6 separate regions of the Homo sapiens genome follow, and regions 1, 2, 4, 5 and 6 are each linked to region 3. Evidence: promoter capture Hi-C in human tissues and cell types (Jung and others, 2019). All regions are on one chromosome and are shown on one strand. The core of a region is centred on a gene start or on the middle of the fragment in contact, and the rest is flanking DNA. Distances in the headings are between cores, read along the strand shown. Region 1 overlaps RNF4 (ring finger protein 4). Region 2 overlaps NSD2 (nuclear receptor binding SET domain protein 2). Region 3 holds the start of MYL5 (myosin light chain 5). Region 4 holds the start of LETM1 (leucine zipper and EF-hand containing transmembrane protein 1). Region 5 holds the start of MIR4800 (microRNA 4800). Region 6 overlaps LOC124900839.

The links. Contacts are between HindIII fragments. The study calls those that stand out against the background at their distance.
Region 1: a contact is called between a fragment that was not itself captured here and the fragment with the promoter of MYL5 in region 3, in 1 of the 25 tissues and cell types used here (H1 embryonic stem cells).
Region 2: a contact is called between a fragment that was not itself captured here and the fragment with the promoter of MYL5 in region 3, in 1 of the 25 tissues and cell types used here (H1 embryonic stem cells).
Region 4: a contact is called between the fragment with the promoter of LETM1 here and the fragment with the promoter of MYL5 in region 3, in 1 of the 25 tissues and cell types used here (adrenal gland).
Region 5: a contact is called between a fragment that was not itself captured here and the fragment with the promoter of MYL5 in region 3, in 1 of the 25 tissues and cell types used here (psoas muscle).
Region 6: a contact is called between a fragment that was not itself captured here and the fragment with the promoter of MYL5 in region 3, in 1 of the 25 tissues and cell types used here (lymphoblastoid cells).

The regions. Positions count from the first base shown.
Region 1 is chr4:2,499,380-2,502,097 of GRCh38, reverse strand. RNF4 (ring finger protein 4) reads right to left here. Exons shown (of 8, transcript NM_002938.5): 4 at 1,360-1,439. Among named protein-coding and RNA genes, the nearest start is that of RNF4, 32 kb to the right of the region's middle. The HindIII fragment of the contact is 8,662 bases long and covers 1-2,718 here.
Region 2 is chr4:1,875,647-1,878,394 of GRCh38, reverse strand. The region is part of intron 1 of NSD2 (nuclear receptor binding SET domain protein 2); the gene reads right to left. Among named protein-coding and RNA genes, the nearest start is that of NSD2, 5.6 kb to the right of the region's middle. The HindIII fragment of the contact is 5,818 bases long and covers 1-2,748 here.
Region 3 is chr4:673,158-675,857 of GRCh38, reverse strand. It overlaps MYL5 (myosin light chain 5), which reads right to left and starts at 1,316. Exons shown (of 9, transcript NM_002477.2): 1 at 1,175-1,316. It overlaps ATP5ME (ATP synthase membrane subunit e), which reads left to right and starts at 1,582. Exons shown (of 4, transcript NM_007100.4): 1 at 1,582-1,646; 2 at 1,892-1,946; 3 at 2,457-2,555. The coding sequence starts at 1,611. RefSeq lists enhancers at 746-815, 693-1,450 and a silencer at 1,026-1,295. The HindIII fragment of the contact is 2,744 bases long and covers 1,043-2,700 here.
Region 4 is chr4:1,854,822-1,857,647 of GRCh38, reverse strand. LETM1 (leucine zipper and EF-hand containing transmembrane protein 1) reads left to right here and starts at 1,492. Exons shown (of 14, transcript NM_012318.3): 1 at 1,492-1,779. The coding sequence starts at 1,698. RefSeq lists enhancers at 1-406, 1,076-1,145, 1,783-2,284 and silencers at 676-895, 1,296-1,855, 1,866-2,055. The HindIII fragment of the contact is 14,961 bases long and covers 1-2,826 here.
Region 5 is chr4:2,248,730-2,251,429 of GRCh38, reverse strand. MXD4 (MAX dimerization protein 4) reads left to right here. Exons shown (of 6, transcript NM_006454.3): 5 at 184-346; 6 at 729-2,700. The coding sequence ends at 886. MIR4800 (microRNA 4800) reads left to right here and starts at 1,274; the gene lies at 1,274-1,353. The HindIII fragment of the contact is 7,274 bases long and covers 1-2,700 here.
Region 6 is chr4:2,016,422-2,019,121 of GRCh38, reverse strand. It overlaps LOC124900839, which reads left to right. Exons shown (of 4, transcript XM_047416543.1): 3 at 1,380-1,452. Among named protein-coding and RNA genes, the nearest start is that of NELFA, 8.8 kb to the right of the region's middle. The HindIII fragment of the contact is 5,535 bases long and covers 1-2,700 here.

The DNA of each region.
Region 1 (2,718 bases), core at 182-2,681, 1.8 Mb before region 3:
GCCAGCTAATATACCAAATTAGTTATCTTTCCAGAACTCCATGCAGGACACAGGGATGATAAGCAAAGTCATATGTGTGTATGTACCTCAGAAAACACGTTAATGAGACCTAAGCAGGGACCACGTACAACTAAACCCACTGCTGCTTATCTCAGATGGTTTTCCATCCCTGTCCTTTTCTTTGCATTGAAGTCTTGAAACTTCTCAGTATAACCCTATTCTGAAGTTCTCAGCACAACTAAGAAGCAACACCTATGGGGTGTCCCTATTCAGATACCCAGGCATCAGCCAAACAGGATAACCCCAACACCAGTGAGCCCAGGGCCAAGGCGAAGACTCAGCTACTAGCAGCCCCCACACCCCACAGTCCTCCTCAGCAGCACTTACCACCCCACTGCCAATGCTGCCAAGTGTGCCCCCACCCCGACCTGTGTTCCGAGCACACTGTCAGAAAACACTCAAGTGGCATCTTCCAGAGGCAAACTTGCCCTTAAGATGCTGACCAGATTCCCAGACCTGCATGCACCATGAAACAGGTCTATCAGAAATAGCTTCTCCGTGTGTCCTCTGACCAGACAAGGCCTCCCTCCTGGCAGGCAGGACACGTATACACACGTCCCCTGCAGTCTGTAACCGGTGCCATGAGACAGGGACACAGGCAGCCTCCTGGGCTCCAGCCTCCCTGGCATCAGGACGCAGCAGGCATCAGGTGGCAATGCAGGGAGCCTGCATCCCCTGAGGCCATGCTAAGTAGCAGGCACTTTTGGAACTTGAGAGATTTCCCATGGGCAGTGCTGAGCCAACGTTCCCTTTCCTTTCAGTTGGGAGGGCATACACTCACAGTGACTGGGCACCATTCTAGGTGTCAGGCACTCAAACACGGCATCTGTTGTAAGATGTCTTACACCATGCCCTGCTGACATGAGTGACCTGTCCCCATTTCATGGAAAGTGAATGAGGCTAAGTCACATGCCCAAGGTCACACAGCTGGTGTAAACTGTGGAATCAGGGACTGAAGACAGATGTGGGGGTCTTGAGATTCTCCCCAAACCACTTTTGTGCCCAGGTGTGGCAAGGTCAGGTTACACAGACCTACTCCATAGGCGACAAGGCTATAACAAATGATTTTCCAGAAACATTTTTCATTTTGGGCTCTCGTCACTGAATGCATGAACTTCTTTGTTATTATTATTGTTACTGTTTATTTTCTTTCTAAAAGCTCAATTCCACAAGATGCATGAACTTCTTTAGCATAAGCTGTAACCTTGACTTGGAGTCTGTGACCAAGGCTGTCAGATGCTGGCACTGGCCAGGGACCCATACCCAAGAAACAGCCGACTCTCACACTCCAACACTTACCACAACAGAGTCATTGTGAGTCAGATCAACCACCACAGGCTCTAAAGATTCACAAGTGAGGTCCACAATTTCATCTCCAGCTTCAAAAGAAAGTATTTCAACAAGCATTAAGATTAAGAGGAAAGTAAGGTTGTATCCCTCTACACTTTAGTATGACTGCTAATGTTATAGGCTTACCCCAAACTAAAACAATCCTGAAGTATACACTGCAAAGAGCACCAGGACCAACACCTCCCTCAGGAGGGAAAGCCAGTAACCACCCTTCCAGAATTCTGCTCTGAGTGGGGAGGTATGGTTTTTACAAATGTACCTGGGGGGTTATGTATGTGTGCGCATGTGCATACCTCTATTCCACGGCATCCCACTTCCACACGGCTATGCCTCTGTGCCCCATCTGGGAGAACGCACCATGCATGCCCAGCCCCAGGCCTTTCTCTTTGGGATGGACTAGCCTGAAACCTCTGCTCCTCCCAGCAGGTGAAGCTGACCACTCTCACTTGGCCCAAGGACCAAAAGTCAGGCTTAGCTTAGTAACTTCATCGGTTAATCTAGGGCAAATTCTTTTTTTTTTTTTTTTTTTTTGAGACAGAGTCTCGCTCTGTCGCCAAGGCTGGAGTGCAGTGGTGCGATCTTGGCTCACTGCAACCTCCGCCTCCTGGGTTCAAGCAATTCTCTGTCTCAGCCTCCCGAGTAGTTGGGATTACAGGCGCCTGGCAGCATGCCTGGCTAATTTTGTTTGTATTTTTAGTAGAGATGGGGTTTCACCATCTTGGCCAGGCTGGTCTTGAACTCCTGACCTTGTGATCCACCCACTTCAGTCTTCCAAAGTGTTGGGATTACAGGCGTGAGCCACCGTGCCCGGCCAAGGACAAACTTTTAATTTCCATTTATCTCTCAAGTTTGTCTCCCTAGTTGGATGGAGAATAACAGTGATATATACTGATAGCTAGAACCTCAACATACAAAATGGGTTGCATCTGTTGTGAAGCTTGCCTTTCAGCCCTTAGGGTATACTGTGATGTCTACATGTGCACAGGATAAAGGTGAGAAGGACATGGACCAAACAGTTAACGTACAACTTCCATTTATATAAAGTAAAAAATGACGCACAACCATTTTTATTTCTGATTACTATTAATATTAATATTAAAAAGCACGGAATGGGCCAGGCACAGTGGTTCACACCTGTAATCCCAGCACTTTGGGAGGCTGAGGTGGGCGGATCACCTGAGGTTGAGAGTTCGAGACCAGCCTGACCAACATGGAGAAACTCCGTTTCTACTAAAAATACAAAATTAGCGAGGTGTGGTGGCACATGCCTGTAATCCCAGCTACTCGGGAGGCTGAGGCAGGAGAATT
Region 2 (2,748 bases), core at 100-2,599, 1.2 Mb before region 3:
GGCTTACGCCTGTAATCCGAACACTTTGGGAGGCCAAGACAGGCAGATCACTTGAGGTCAGGAGTTCGAGACCAGCCTGGCCAACATGGCCTAGTCTCTACTAAAAATACAAAAAAAAAAAAAAAAAAAAAAAAAAAAAAAAATATATATATATATATATATATATATCAGCCGGGCATGGTGGCACACACCCGTAATCCCAGCTACTTGGGAGGCTGAGGCAGGAGAACCGCTTGAACCCAGGAAGCAGAGGTTGTGGTGAGCCTAGATTGTGCCACTGCACTCCAGCCTGGGTGACAGAGTTAGACTCCGTCTCAGAAGTGTGTGTGTATATATATAATACTTTTTTTAAATTTTATTTTTCTTTTGGGACAGAGTCTTACTGCCACCCAGTCTGGAATGCAGTGGCATAATCGTGGTTCCCTGCAACCTCAAACTCCTGGGCTGGAGTGATCCTCTCGTCTTGGCTTCATAAAGCACCAGGATCACAGATAAACTGTAATAGTACCTGGTCACAACAGAGTACTTTAAATCAGTGGTCAGAGAAGGTGCCCGAGAGGGAGAAGCACAAAGACCTGAAGGAGGGTGAGGGGTAAGCCACACAGATACCTGGGGACAGCATTCCAGGTCAAAGAAGGAACAAGGGCACTAGTCGGAGGCAGCAGAGCTGCAGGGCTTCAGAGCAGGCAAGAGGCCCGTGTGGCTGGAACAGAATGAGAATGGGAGTGGGTGACGATGGAAAAGACAAGAGCCTCCCAAAACAGGCAGGAGTCAGGCACAGCATTCAGTGTGGGGCCCAAGCTGAGACCTGGCAGAAGGAAGGAAGAGGGAAAGCATGCCTATCCCCCAAACACATGGGGTAAGGGGGCACATGGGCAGAAGAAAGGAACAAAAATTGACCACACAAAGGCCCAGAGGAAAAACATGGCAGAAAGAGATGAGCTGAGTAACTGAGATGAGGGCAAAACAAGTAGTGCAGTGAGAGTCAGAAAGCCAGTGAGAGACTCGTCTTGAACCCCAATGGGCAGTGAGAGTCACCCCCTGAAGACTGGGGACACATAGGACATCTGTATTTTAGAAAGACAAGGCAGTGTGTAGAGAACTACCTGAAGACAGTAAAACCGGAGTCGGAAAAATGCTTTCTGATCATTAGCCTCCATAATATAGCAGCAAAAAATATATGAAAACCATCAAAATGTAAGAACATTGCTAACATGCACAGATCCTCTAAAAGCATAACAATTTTTTTTTTTTCCTTGAGACAGAATCTCGTCCTGTCGCCCAGGCTGGAGTGCAGTAGCATGATCTCGGCTCATTTCAACCTCTGCCTCCCAGGCTCAGGGAAGTCTCCTGCCTCAGCCTCCCGAGTAGCTGGGATTACAGGCACCCACCACCACGCCCAGCTAATTTTTTGTATTTTTAGTAGAGACGGGGTTTCACCACATTTCCCAGGCTGGTCTCGAACTCCTGACCTCAGGTGATCTGCCTGCCTTGGCCTCCCAAAGCACTGGGATTACAGGCGTGAGCCACCCACCGCACCAGCAAACGGCATAACAAATTTAATTCACATCATCAACTCTCTCAGTGCCAACTCAAGTCAACTTAAAAATTGAGGTTCCAATTCCTTCCAGAAAAAAAAAGCATTTTTTCTACACACCCACTAGGGTAGTCTCACTATTGGGGTTTTGTGTTTAGGTTTGTTTTTTGAGAGAGGGTTGTGCTATCTCCCAGGCTGGAGTGTGGTGGTATGATCACAGCTCACTGCAGCCTCAAAGTCCTGGACTCAGGTGACCTCCCACTTCAGCCACCCAAGTATCTGGGACTATAGGCACACACCACCAAGCCCAGCTAATTTTCAAAAATTTTTGTAGAGATGGGGTCTCCCTATGTTGCCCAAGCTGGTGTCAAACTCCTAGTCTCAAGTGATCCTCCCACCTCAGCCTCCCAAAGTGCTGCAATTACAGGCATGAGCAACTGTGCCTATCCACTACTGGAGTTTTTGAGCTGAGGCCATCACTCAGCTAACCAACACTGCAATTTCTATCCTTGTATATTTTGTTGAAACCACTAAGTATTACAGAAAGTAAAATGCTTTGAAAACTCATCTGGGGCCAGGTGGTTTTAGGAAAGCAGATACTAAAACAAAACTAATTTGAAATCTGTCTTGGTTTTTTTTTTTTGAGACAGGGGTCTTGCTCTGTCAACCAGGGTGGAGGGCAGTGGCGCGATCTCAGCTCACTGCAAGCTCCGCCTCCCAGGTTCACACCATTCTCCTGCCTCAGCCTCCCGAGTAGCTGGGACTACAGGCACTGCAACCATGCCCAGCTTATTTTTTATATTTTTAGTAGAGACAGGGTTTCACCATGTTAGCCAGGATGGTCTCAATCTCCTGACCTCATGATCCACCCGCCTCGGCCTCCCAAAGTGCTGGGATTACAAGCTTGAGCCACCGCACCCAGCCAAAATCTGTCTTGAATTCTTTTTTTTTGAGATGGAGTCTCGCTGTCTCCCAGGCTGGAGTGCAGTGGCGCAGTCTTGGCTCACTGCAAGCTCCGCCTCCTGGGTTAACGCCATTCTCCTGCCTCAGCCTCCCGAGTAGCTGGGACTACAGGCGTCCACCACCATGCCCAGCTAATTTTTTGTATTTTTTTTTTTTAGTAGAAACGGGGTTTCATCATGTTAGCCAGGATGGTCTCGACCTCCTGACCTCGTGATCCAACCGCCTCGGCCTCCCAAAGTGCTGGGATT
Region 3 (2,700 bases), core at 67-2,566:
CACCAGAGCGCAATCCAGATCCAAGTGCGCAGCTCACAGTAGGGTTCACGCTCCTATGGGAATCTGATGCCCAGGCTGATCTGAAAGTGGGTGGAGCTCGGGCAATCATGCTCCCTCACCTCGTCCTGTGCTGCCCGGTTCCTAACGGGCCACAAGCTGGTACTGGTCTGCACCTGGGGGTTGGGGACCCCTGCCCTATAGGACTGGCCTTGGTATACCCAGCTCAGGAAACAGAGCCCAGTGACTTCCTAGTTTCTCAGCCAGAGAGGCCCAGGCCCTGGACCCCAGAGCAAGCCAGGAGAGGGGGCAGAGGCGACTTAGGCCCGGACAGGTAGCCCAGGCCGCCAGGATCACGGGTCCTCCCCATGCTTGCTTCAAGAGTCCTGGAGTTTGTGATGCTGCACCTTAGCGAGACCCGAGCCATAGTTCTCCAGTTGCTTCTGCCTGTAGCAGTGCAGGGCCAGGAGGGGACACAGGAGGCCTTGCGTCACTACTGCATGGGGCCAAAGGGGGCCCGAGGGTGGCCCAGCACGGGCAGCATGGCTGCCGCCAGGAAGACCCAGAACGTGGAGGGGGTGCCAGGCTCCTGCCTAGACTCCAAGCCTGGTGTCCATGGGGCTGGCGGGTCAGCACTTCGGGCACAGCGGGGAGGCTGCATAGGCACCGCAGGCCCCATCTCTGGGCAGCTGTGGGAGACACACAGCTACCGGGAGGTGGACAGAGGCCAGCAAAGACCAGTGTGGGGCTCAGTGGTCCCCAGGCCTGGGCCGGGGCAGGCCCTTGGAGCCGTGGAGTCCTGAGGCCTGGAGTCGGGGGACCCAGGGAGCAGCCTCTGTTGGGGGCTGGTCTTCCCAAGAAGATCCCAGCCCCTCTTCGGGACAGAAGTGATGGGGCATCCTGGGGTGAGGAAGCTCCAGCTCCGGGATGAAGGGCGCCCCGTGCTCCCGGGCAGAGCAGCCGCAGGAAGAGGGGCCTGGAGGCCATGCTCCCGCGGGCCGCGGAATCCAACGCGGCCCGGCCGGCGACAGACACTACTGCCTTGTAGGAGAAGGACCTGCCCGGGGAGCCACCTGCACTCGGCTCACACTCCGCTCCCAGGACCCCCAGGTCCCTGCCCAGGCCACCCTCGGGTGGGCGCGGTCCGCGGGGCTGGACCCGCCCGAGCCGCCCTGACCTCAGGCCTCCGACGCTCCGCGCAAGAAGACAGAGTGCGCCCCGGCCCGCAGTCTGGGGTGTGGACACACGGCCAGGACGCGGACGGCGGGGCCTCGGCAGCAGCGCGGGGAAACAGCGGACCCCCAGCCCTGCGGGGAAAGGAAACCCCCCGCCCACTCGGCGCAGATCCCGCCTCACGCAGCAACTGCGCAGGCGCAGCCGATGATCCTCCGCGCACTCCCCAGCCTTTGTGCGCGTGCGCCTCACGTGACGTCACCGCCGCGCGGGGGCGCGCAGTCACCCTTCGGTCGCCAGGGGGCGCGGCCCCCCGCTCTCTCGCCGCTGACGGCGCATGCGTGCGCCCAGCTCCGCCTTTGCCTCCAAGGCTTTGCTGGCTTGTGCGGCATCCTGCTCCGTCTGCAGGTTGTGCTTCCGGTGCGGAGGTCAGGGACAAGATGGTGCCACCGGTGCAGGTCTCTCCGCTCATCAAGGTGATCCAGGCTTTGCAGCCGCCGCCCAGTGCTCTGGGCCCCCCCGTGTCCCGCCCCGCAGCTCCGACCCCGCGGGCTGCGACCCCCGGCCCCCGCCCCCATGATCCTCGCCCCGTGACCCTCGCCCGGCGACCGGACCCCCACCCCTCCTGCGACCTCTGCCCAGCGACCCCGCCCCCCCTCCTCCCGCGACCCCCGTCCCGCGAGCCCCGTTTCGCGCCGCCTCTGACCAACCTCTTTCGCAGCTCGGCCGCTACTCCGCCCTGTTCCTCGGTGTGGCCTACGGAGCCACGCGCTACAGTGAGTGACCGCGGGCGGGGCCGGGGCGGGGTCTGCTCGGCTTTCCTGTGGAGCTCCTGTGCTATTTGGAGAACTCCAGCTCTGGAAGGGGGCTTGGGACGCATGCGAGGCTGCAGGACCGTGTCCTCCACCGAGCGTGACCCCGATAGTGGAATCAGCTCACCCAAAGCTCAGGCTTCTGAGGCCCGGGCGGGGGACTCGAAAACGGCTGCTTCTTGGTGAAAACGGGTGCTAAATGGCTGTTCGAGTGCTGAGGTCTTGATGGGAGGCAGTCCCTGTTCGCAGAGGACGAGTGAGCCAGTGCGTGAGCGGGTGGGCAGCAGGGGCCCTGTAGCCTCTGGGTTGGACTCGTCAGGGTGAAGGTCAGGCGTTGACTCGCATTAACATAAAGAGCGGGAACAGCAGGTGCGTCTGGTTTACAGCGTCGCTGAAGATACCTTGACCTGTGGACTCAGTTCCTTTTGTACAGCATTTCCAGTGAATTTTATTCTCCTGCATTCCGCCAAACAGATTACCTAAAACCTCGGGCAGAAGAGGAGAGGAGGATAGCAGCAGAAGAGAAGAAGAAGCAGGATGAACTGAAACGGATTGCCAGAGAATTGGCAGAAGGTACGAGTGACACTGGCTCTTATAGATTGTCCCTCCCAGGTTTGTGCAGGGATAAGGAAAATGGAGGAGGACATTTAAGCAGAGCTAAGTAGATGCGGATTGTTTAAAAATGGGGAAGCTGGCCAGGCGTGGTGGCTCATGCCTG
Region 4 (2,826 bases), core at 243-2,742, 1.2 Mb before region 3:
AGGACCGACTGCATGGACAGCAGGGGCAGAGGGGACCCTGGGGAGGGAGCCTCCTAGGGAGATGTGCCATTCAACCAGCCTCTCAAGACTGGGGAGCTGGCTGGCATCAGGCGTTTCACACCCCATGCGCTCCAGGGAACAGAGATGCTGAGTGTGCACTACAAGACCCTCCCCAGGCGGTGCCCTGAGGTGCCGCGGAGAAGCAGGAGGAGGCAGGTTACATCCCTGAACAAGACAGAGGGCAGGGCAAGTGCTGTGCTGGGGATCTCCTAGCTGGAGATCTCCACCAGCTGGGCCCCCAGCGCCGCAGGTCCCCATTTTTCTCCCTGCCTGCTTTCTCTGCCCCAACTCAGGGATCCTCATCTTAGGGAAGGAAGGGGAAGGTGGAGCTCAGAGGTCACGGTCTGCTGGGAGGCTGCACGGTCTCTCTCCCCTGGACTGGTCAGGGCCGGCTATTAAACTGGGCTGGGGGGAGGCTCCTGGGAGACGGCGCATGAGCGGTCCGCGAGCCCAGCCCAGCTCTGGCGGGAATTCTGGAGACTTCGAGCCAGGTCCTTGGCGTCCTGGGCTTCGGCTGTTCCTTCTTGGACTGGGAAGTGGAGCGGACAGGGTATGGCCCAGGTTAGGAAGTCTGGCGCTCTTGCGGCGCGCGGGACCCCAGGGGCTGCTTAGGCCAGAGCGAAACGAGGGGTCCCCCCGCGCCAACGCAGGACCCATATCTACCCCTCCCGCTCAGACGGGAGGACGCGGTGTGCCGGGATGGGGGGCCGCTATGCTGGCTGCGCCGCCACCCGGCCTAGTGCCCTCGCCTCCAGGGGCCGGCATGGCCCTGTCCTTCGGGGCGGGACCCTGCGCTCCCGTCCCCCCAGTGGTGACGGGGACTCCCGACGCCGAGCAGCGCCGTATCTGGGGAGCGCCGCCCGGTACGCAGGGAAGAGGCACTCAGAGCTGCGCGCGCCAGAGTGCAGACCGCCGAGGGCAGAGCCACAGAGCAGGGGGGCCGGCGAGGGACCGCGGCCGAGGGCGTCGAGGGCGCCCCTCCATCCCCAGCGTCCCCTGACTTGCCCTTGGAGCCCCAAGCTCCCAGGAGCCGTTTTCTACTCGTGGGTGCAGGACTTAGTCCCAGAAAAGTTCCGGACACACGCGCTGCTGCCGCCGCCCGGAGACGAAAAGACACTCCCCGCGCAAGCGCGGCCGACTCCCTCAGCTCCTGCGGCCGCCACGCTGCGAGCCCCGGCGTCCACGGTACGACGGGAACCAGGATGCAGCGAGCCCCAGGAGCCAGCCGCCCCGGTGCACGCCGGGACCGGTAGTCCGCGCCTCAGGGTAGTCCGCCGCTCCGGTGCACGCCGGGATCGGTAGTCCGCACCCCAGCGTGCAGGCCGTCCCGGTGCACGCCGGAACCGGTAGTCCGCGGTGGCGCGGTCCGCCCCTCACCTGGCCAGCGGCGGGCGCTGAGGGGCCCAATGGGAGCCGCGGCCTGGCCGCCCCGCCCCGCGCCTCCGGACGTCTGTGCCGGGACAAGGCCGCCGCTGGTGCCGGGTCCTTGAGGAGAGCGCCTCCCGTCCGAGGCCAGCCGCCTCTGTCAGCCGTCCGCGCGGGCCGGGTCTGAAGCGCCGCCGGGACGGCGAAGAGCCGCGGCCGCCGCGGAGAAGGAGGCAGCGCAGGAGGCCGGAGCGGCCGCCGCGCCCGAGCACATGGCGTCCATCTTACTGAGGAGCTGCCGCGGCCGGGCGCCCGCCCGCCTCCCGCCGCCGCCTCGGTACACCGTCCCGCGGGGTAAGCGGCGGGCACCCCAGGGCGGGGCCGGCTCCCGGCTGGTGGGTCGGGAGCGCGGACGACCCGCGGGTTCGGGCTGGTTGTCACGGCGATGCGGGGAGCCCGGTGGTCCCGGCCTCCGGAGCCCCTGCGGGACCGTGGGGCCCCGGGTCTCGTCGCGGGCTGGGCCGCCAGCGCCGGGCGGAGCCGCTGGGCCTCTGCCGTGTGTTGTGACCTTAGGCGGCCGGGTCCCCCGGGTCACTGCCTCAGAGACAGTGGGAAAATTCTGAAGGGCTGGGCAGCCCTGGCGCGCCCTGCGCGAGTAAGCTTGGTGGAACGTGTCCACGCACGAGGACGGCCGTGCCCTTTGGTCACGTTTGGGGTCCCGGAGACGAGACTGGGTGGGCAGGGCAGACACCGGCGAGCAGGACCTGCTGGGCTGCAGGAGCCTTCCTGGTCCGTCACTGATGAGGTGATGCCAGCACCTACAAACCCCTGTGGTGTGATTAGGCCGCGACCGGCACCCGGGGAACACGGGGACTCCGGAGCCGCTGAGGGTCCTCAGGGTGCGTGGCTTTAGCCCCCCTAGCCTCAGGTGCTGTCTGGAGTGAATGCTGTCCCAGGGTGTGCCCACCTCCTCTCTCTCTCTAATTAACCAACTTATTTGAGTCTATGTCCTTATTTGTAAAATTGGAATAAACATAAAACTTGCTAAGAGGGACTCAAGTAAAATAATTAGTGCAGTGGTGCGATCATACTCACTGCACCTCAAACTCCTGGGCTCAAGCTATCCTTCTGCCTCAGCCTCCCAAGTTGTTAGTTGTGCCACACAACACCCAGCTAATTTTTTTTTTTGTAGTTTTTTTGTAGAGACAGGGTCTTGGTATGTTGCCCAGCCTGGTCTTGAACTCCAAGGCTCAACTGATCCTCCTGCTTTGGCCTCCCAAAGTGCTGGGATTACAGGAGCCACCATGCCCAGGCACCCAGCTTCAATATTCTTGTCTCTGTTCCCCACCCCCAAAGAGATAGATTGAAGTTGCCCTGAATGTATCCTCCCAATTCTTGTTT
Region 5 (2,700 bases), core at 1-2,500, 1.6 Mb before region 3:
GGAGGGACCCACCTCAGGCTGTGGGGCTGGCAGAGACTGGGCACCCTGTGGCCTGTAGCCTTGGCTAGGTCTTGGCAGGGATGGGGAACCTCCCGGGCCCAGGCCTGGGTGCCCCAGTGCCTGGCCAGGGGGATGGGGGGACTCCTCTTCCCGCTGTGAGCTCACAGCCCCCCTCGACCCCAGAAACTGGAGGAGCAGGACCGCCGGGCACTGAGCATCAAGGAGCAGCTGCAGCAGGAGCATCGTTTCCTGAAGCGGCGCCTGGAGCAGCTGTCGGTGCAGAGCGTGGAGCGCGTGCGCACAGATAGCACGGGCTCTGCTGTCTCCACGGACGACTCAGAGCAAGGTGGGGCGTGGGGCGCGGGGCAGCCTCACCTGGGCCTCCGGGTGCGCAGTGGTGCAGCTCCCTGGGTGGAGAGGAGGTGCCTGGTGCTGGGGCTGGGGAGAACCCTCCCAGCTCCCTGCTGCACTGGGGTGTGTGTTTGTCACTAAGCGCAGAAGGGACTGGACAGGGAGGGTGGGATGCAGAGGCTGTGTGGCCCGCTGAGGACTGGTGCTTCTGAGGCCGGGTTCTCAGCCAGAGCCCTCCTGGCGTCTGCTGCCCCAGGGCCCAGACAGCGCCCTCCGCACTTCTGCCCCTCTGCCTAGAGCTTCTGCTTCCAGAAAAGGGAGAAATGGGCTGGCACCCTCAGAGTGGCCTGACCCCATCCCCACTCTATTCTCCCTAGAAGTGGACATAGAGGGCATGGAGTTTGGCCCTGGTGAGCTGGACAGTGTTGGCAGCAGCAGTGACGCGGACGACCACTACAGCCTGCAGAGTGGCACCGGCGGCGACAGTGGCTTCGGGCCCCACTGCCGGCGGCTGGGCCGCCCCGCCCTCTCGTAGGCCCGTGCCCTCTGCTCCTTGGCCTGCCTGCCCGCCAGCCACGCGTGTCAGCCCTCCAGTTCTCCTTCAGTTGACGCCAGCCTCTCCACAGGCCCACTGCTGTGCCATTCTGGAAGCTCCAGCTGCTGCTGGGCTGCCTGGCACTGCCCGCTTGCCGGTCAGGGCCTGCCGAGCTGCCTGCCCCTTCCAGCTGGGCAGAGTCCCCTGCAAGGAGGCAGGGCCCAGCTTCCACATCCGGAGCCCTGGTCAGCATAGCCGCCCACGGTCTGTTCTCAGATTCCTAATCATTCCAGAAGTATTAAACGTCATTGCTGCAAACCTCGGCAGGTGCCGTGTGAGGGGCTTAATGACCACCACAGGGAGCTCAGACCCCAACCCTGGATCCCAGGAGAAAGGAGTGGACCGAGGAAGGAAGGAAGGCAAGGCTGTCTGTCCATCCGTCCGTCTGTCCACCTACCTGTCAGTCCACATAGGCTCCTGGCGTGGACAAGGGGTCTGTGAAGGGCGGGAACTGGGTGAGCACCTGGGGCAGGTGGGTGGTTAAGGTCCTTCCCACTTCGCAGGTGTCAGAACCTAGGGCTGGGCTCTCGGGGCCAGGCAGGCCAGCCCAGCCCACGCCGAGCTGGGCAGCGTCTGCTCTGGTAGGACTGTCAGACGCACACGCGCACGCACCTAGACACACCCACTCATGTACATGCTCACACATGCAGACACACCTGGGCGTCCCGAGGTCACATGTTCTGGGGATGATGGCCTTCAGGGGTCATCTGGCAAACAGCCCCTGGGCTGTGCCTGGATCCCCCTCTAGCTCCTGCTCACCCACGCCCACCCAGTAGTCCTGCCTGTCTGCACAGGAGAGGGGCTTCTCTTCCTGGCTGGGGCTGGGGTGAACTGGAGGCTGGTTAAGTTGCAGCCGCTGGGTCCTCGGGGGCTTACTCATCTCCCTTTTTTAAACAAAAAGCAAAAAAGTAAAATGCTGCACTGCCCAGCAGCCCGGTTAGGGCTCCTGGAGCCACCTTAGGAAAGGGCTTCTCATGAGCTCTGCTGCGGCAGCTTCAGCTGGCAGAGAGGCTTTCCCAGAAAAAAAAAAAAAACCATTTTTAAAAAGAAGAAAGCCTAAAGACTCTCGGCCTAGGGACGTCCGTGTGTGCCGCCTCTGTTTCCTGTACCAGATTTTTGTATTCTATTTTCCTAGCTGTTGTTGCGTCCTTGTTTGCTGAGGGGTGGGAGCCACCCAGCGTCTCAGGGACCTGTCCCTCCGTCACGTCGTCAAAGTGTGCCTTGTGTCTTGTGTCAGGCCTTGCCCTTCCCACCAGCATGTCCCTCGTGGCTCAGGGTGCCCCAGGCCTGCCCAGCTAGTGCTGTCCTCCCATCTCCTGTGGGCAGCCCCTCCCGGCAGCCAGGGCTTCCTGGAGGCGATGCAGCCAGGCCCCTGTGGGTGGCACGGAGGGGCTGTGACCTGGTCCCCAGTGTTGCCCTCCCCAGTGGCTGGCAGGGGCCTGCTTGCTCACTAGAGAGATGGATTCTCACCTGTCACCTGACTCGAGCCCCCTGCTTCCTGGCCTAGGCGAGGGTTCCAGGTTTCAGACACTGGCAGCCAATGAAGACTGTGCTCGCTGGGTGGTGCAGGCCTGGCACCAGGAGGCTTGCACCCGCCTTTCCTTCCTGACGTCCTCTGTCCTTGGGGCTGGCCCATAGCAGTGCCTGCCGTGCCTCTGGTACATCTGTAGCCAATTCCCATATCATGGGGAAAATTCGTGTCTATTTTCAGTCGTACGCATAGACGCCCCAGGATGGGGGGCCCACTGTGGCGG
Region 6 (2,700 bases), core at 123-2,622, 1.3 Mb before region 3:
CACTGGCCCTTGGTGCCCTTGAGACAGGGACATTCAGACCTGTGTTAGTTCATCCTCTTCCCAAGGAGCTCTTCACAACAGAAGGTGACAAGGACAGACGGACACACAGAATTGTTGTTAGGAGCAAAGTAGTTTCCACAAGGATCAAAATCTTCATCTCATCAGATAATCAAAGCACACGTAAGAAGGCTTTCTCAATCCTGGAACACAAGGAGCTTTCACAAAAGAAAACCAGAGGGTCACGGGGAGAGTGCTGGTTCCAGTCGCAGGTCTCAGGCCATCCTGGGGAGGCCGTCTCAGCCGAATCCCATGGGAACATTTAGGACCATTCACTGCCAACAACTCAACAGTGACTCCCAGAAAACTTGTTTATTTTTAGAGACAGGGTCTTGCTCTGTTGCCCGGGCTAGATTGCAGTGGTGCAACCACAGCTCACTGCAGCCTCAACCTCCTGGGCTCAAGCAATCCTCCCCCATCAACCTCCCAAGTAGCTGGGACTACAGGTGTGCTCCACCACACCCGGCTAATTTTTTAGTGTTTTGTAGAGACAGAGTCTTGCTGTGTTGCCAAGGCTGGTCTCTAACTCCTGGGCTCACGCAATCCTCCCACCTCAGCCTCCCAAAGTGCGCCTGGCCTCATAGGATTTTAGAATCTGGGCTCAGATGGTTGATGGTCTGTCTTTCAGTGCAAGGACTCATTGGGATAGGACAGAGCTTATGGCCCAACAGTGCAGGACAGAGAAACACAGCCAGATGAAGGTTCTGATGAGTGAGCTGGTTCCCAGATTGGTAAACTATGTGCCAGGATACATTGTTCTGCAAGATTTTCCTGAAGCAAACAGTGATTGACTGATTTAGTTTTATCTTCCTGGAAAGAATTTTCTGGAAATAATCATTAAATCAGGTTGACACAGGTGATCTCAGCTCTTGATCCCAAGAGTTAAGTGGACACAGGTGGTCTCAATTCTCATCCCGTCCTCAATATTCTGCCAAGGCCCCTCTGTCTTTTCCATCTCTTTTTTTTTTTCATTTTCTTTCTTTCTTTTTTTTTTTTTTTTTTTGAGACGGAGTCTCACGCTTGGTGCCCAGGCTGGAGTGCAATGGCACGATCTCAGCTCACGGCAACCTCCACCTCCCAGGTTCAAGCGATTCTCCTGCCTCAGCCTCCTGTGTAGCTGGGATTACAGGCATGAGCCACCACGCCCAGTTAATTTTTGTATTTTTAGTAGAGACAGGGTTTCACCATGTTGGCCAGGATGGTCTTGATCTCTTGACCTCATGATCCACCTGCCTCGGCCTCCCAAAGTGCTGGGATTACAGGCATGAGCCACTGTGCCCAGCCTTCCACCTCATTTTCTCTGTCATCATTTTTTTCTCCAGCTTCCAGGAGCCGTCGTAGCAGCCGATTAGGACTGGCTGCTGGTGTGGTGATGACCTAGAGGGCTTCTCCCAGGTAAGGTGAGAAGAGGGATCCACTCACTGCAAGAGGCTGCATAAACTTAACCCAACACTGTAAAGGCTCTCCTCATGAACAAAGCATTAGTAGTCTAGATAAAATACTAACAAGCGAAATCTAGCAACGTGTAAAAAAGAATAACATAGTCCAAGTTGGGCTTATTCTAGGAAAGTAAGGTTTATGTAATTTGAAAGGCAATCAATGTAATTCATCACATTTACAAAATAAAGGTGAAAAAATCATACAATCATCTCAGTATGCACAACAAAACATTTTATAAGAACATTTGATAAAATTAAATGTTGGTCATGATTTTTAAAAACCTGTAGCAAATTAGGAATAGAAGGGAACTTCTTTAATTTGATCTAGGGCACCTTAAAAAATAAGCAAACATGGCCGGGCATGGTGGCTCACACCTGTAATCCCAGCACTTTGGGAGGCTGAGGCGGGCGGATCACGAGGTGAGGAGATCGAGACCATGCTGGCTAACACGGTGAAACCCCATCTCTAATAAAAATACAAAAAATTAGCCGGGCGTGGTGGCGGGCGACTTGTAGTCCCAGATACTCAGGAGGCTGAGGCAGGAGAACGGCCAGAACCCGGGAGGCGGAGCTTGCAGTGAGCCAAGATCACACTACTGCACTCCAGCCTGGGCGACAGAGTGAGAATCCGTCTCAAAAAAATAAGAATAAAAATAAGCAAACATATCACTTAATGGACTCATGTAACAGTGAAAAGTATGGCGGGATAGCTAACAGGCCAACCCTCCCACTGATTAAAGGCTTTGGAGCATAAACCAAAGCAAGCGGATTTTGGAGGGAAGTAAAAACTTGGAGGAAAGGACCAGCCTGGTGAATTTGTTTGTTTGTTTGAGACAAAGTCTTGCTCTGTTGCCCAGGCTGGAGTGCAATGGTGTGATCTCAGCTCACTGCGACCTCTGCCTCCCGGATTCAAGCAATGCTCCTGCCTCAGCCTCCTGAGTAGCTGGGATTACAGGTGCCCACCACTGTGCCCGGCTAATTTTTGTATTTTTAGTAGAGATGGGGTTTTGCCATGTTGGCCAGGCTGGTTTTGAACTCCTGACCTCAGGTGATCCACCTGCCTCGGCCTTCCAAAGTGTTGGGATCACAGGCATGAGCCACCACAGCTGACTGATCCTGGTGAGTTTTAAGGCCATTTTCAAAGCTTAAGCCTGAGGACAGCTAGGGAGCCCCGGCATGGTGCAAGCAGATAACCCTAACAGAA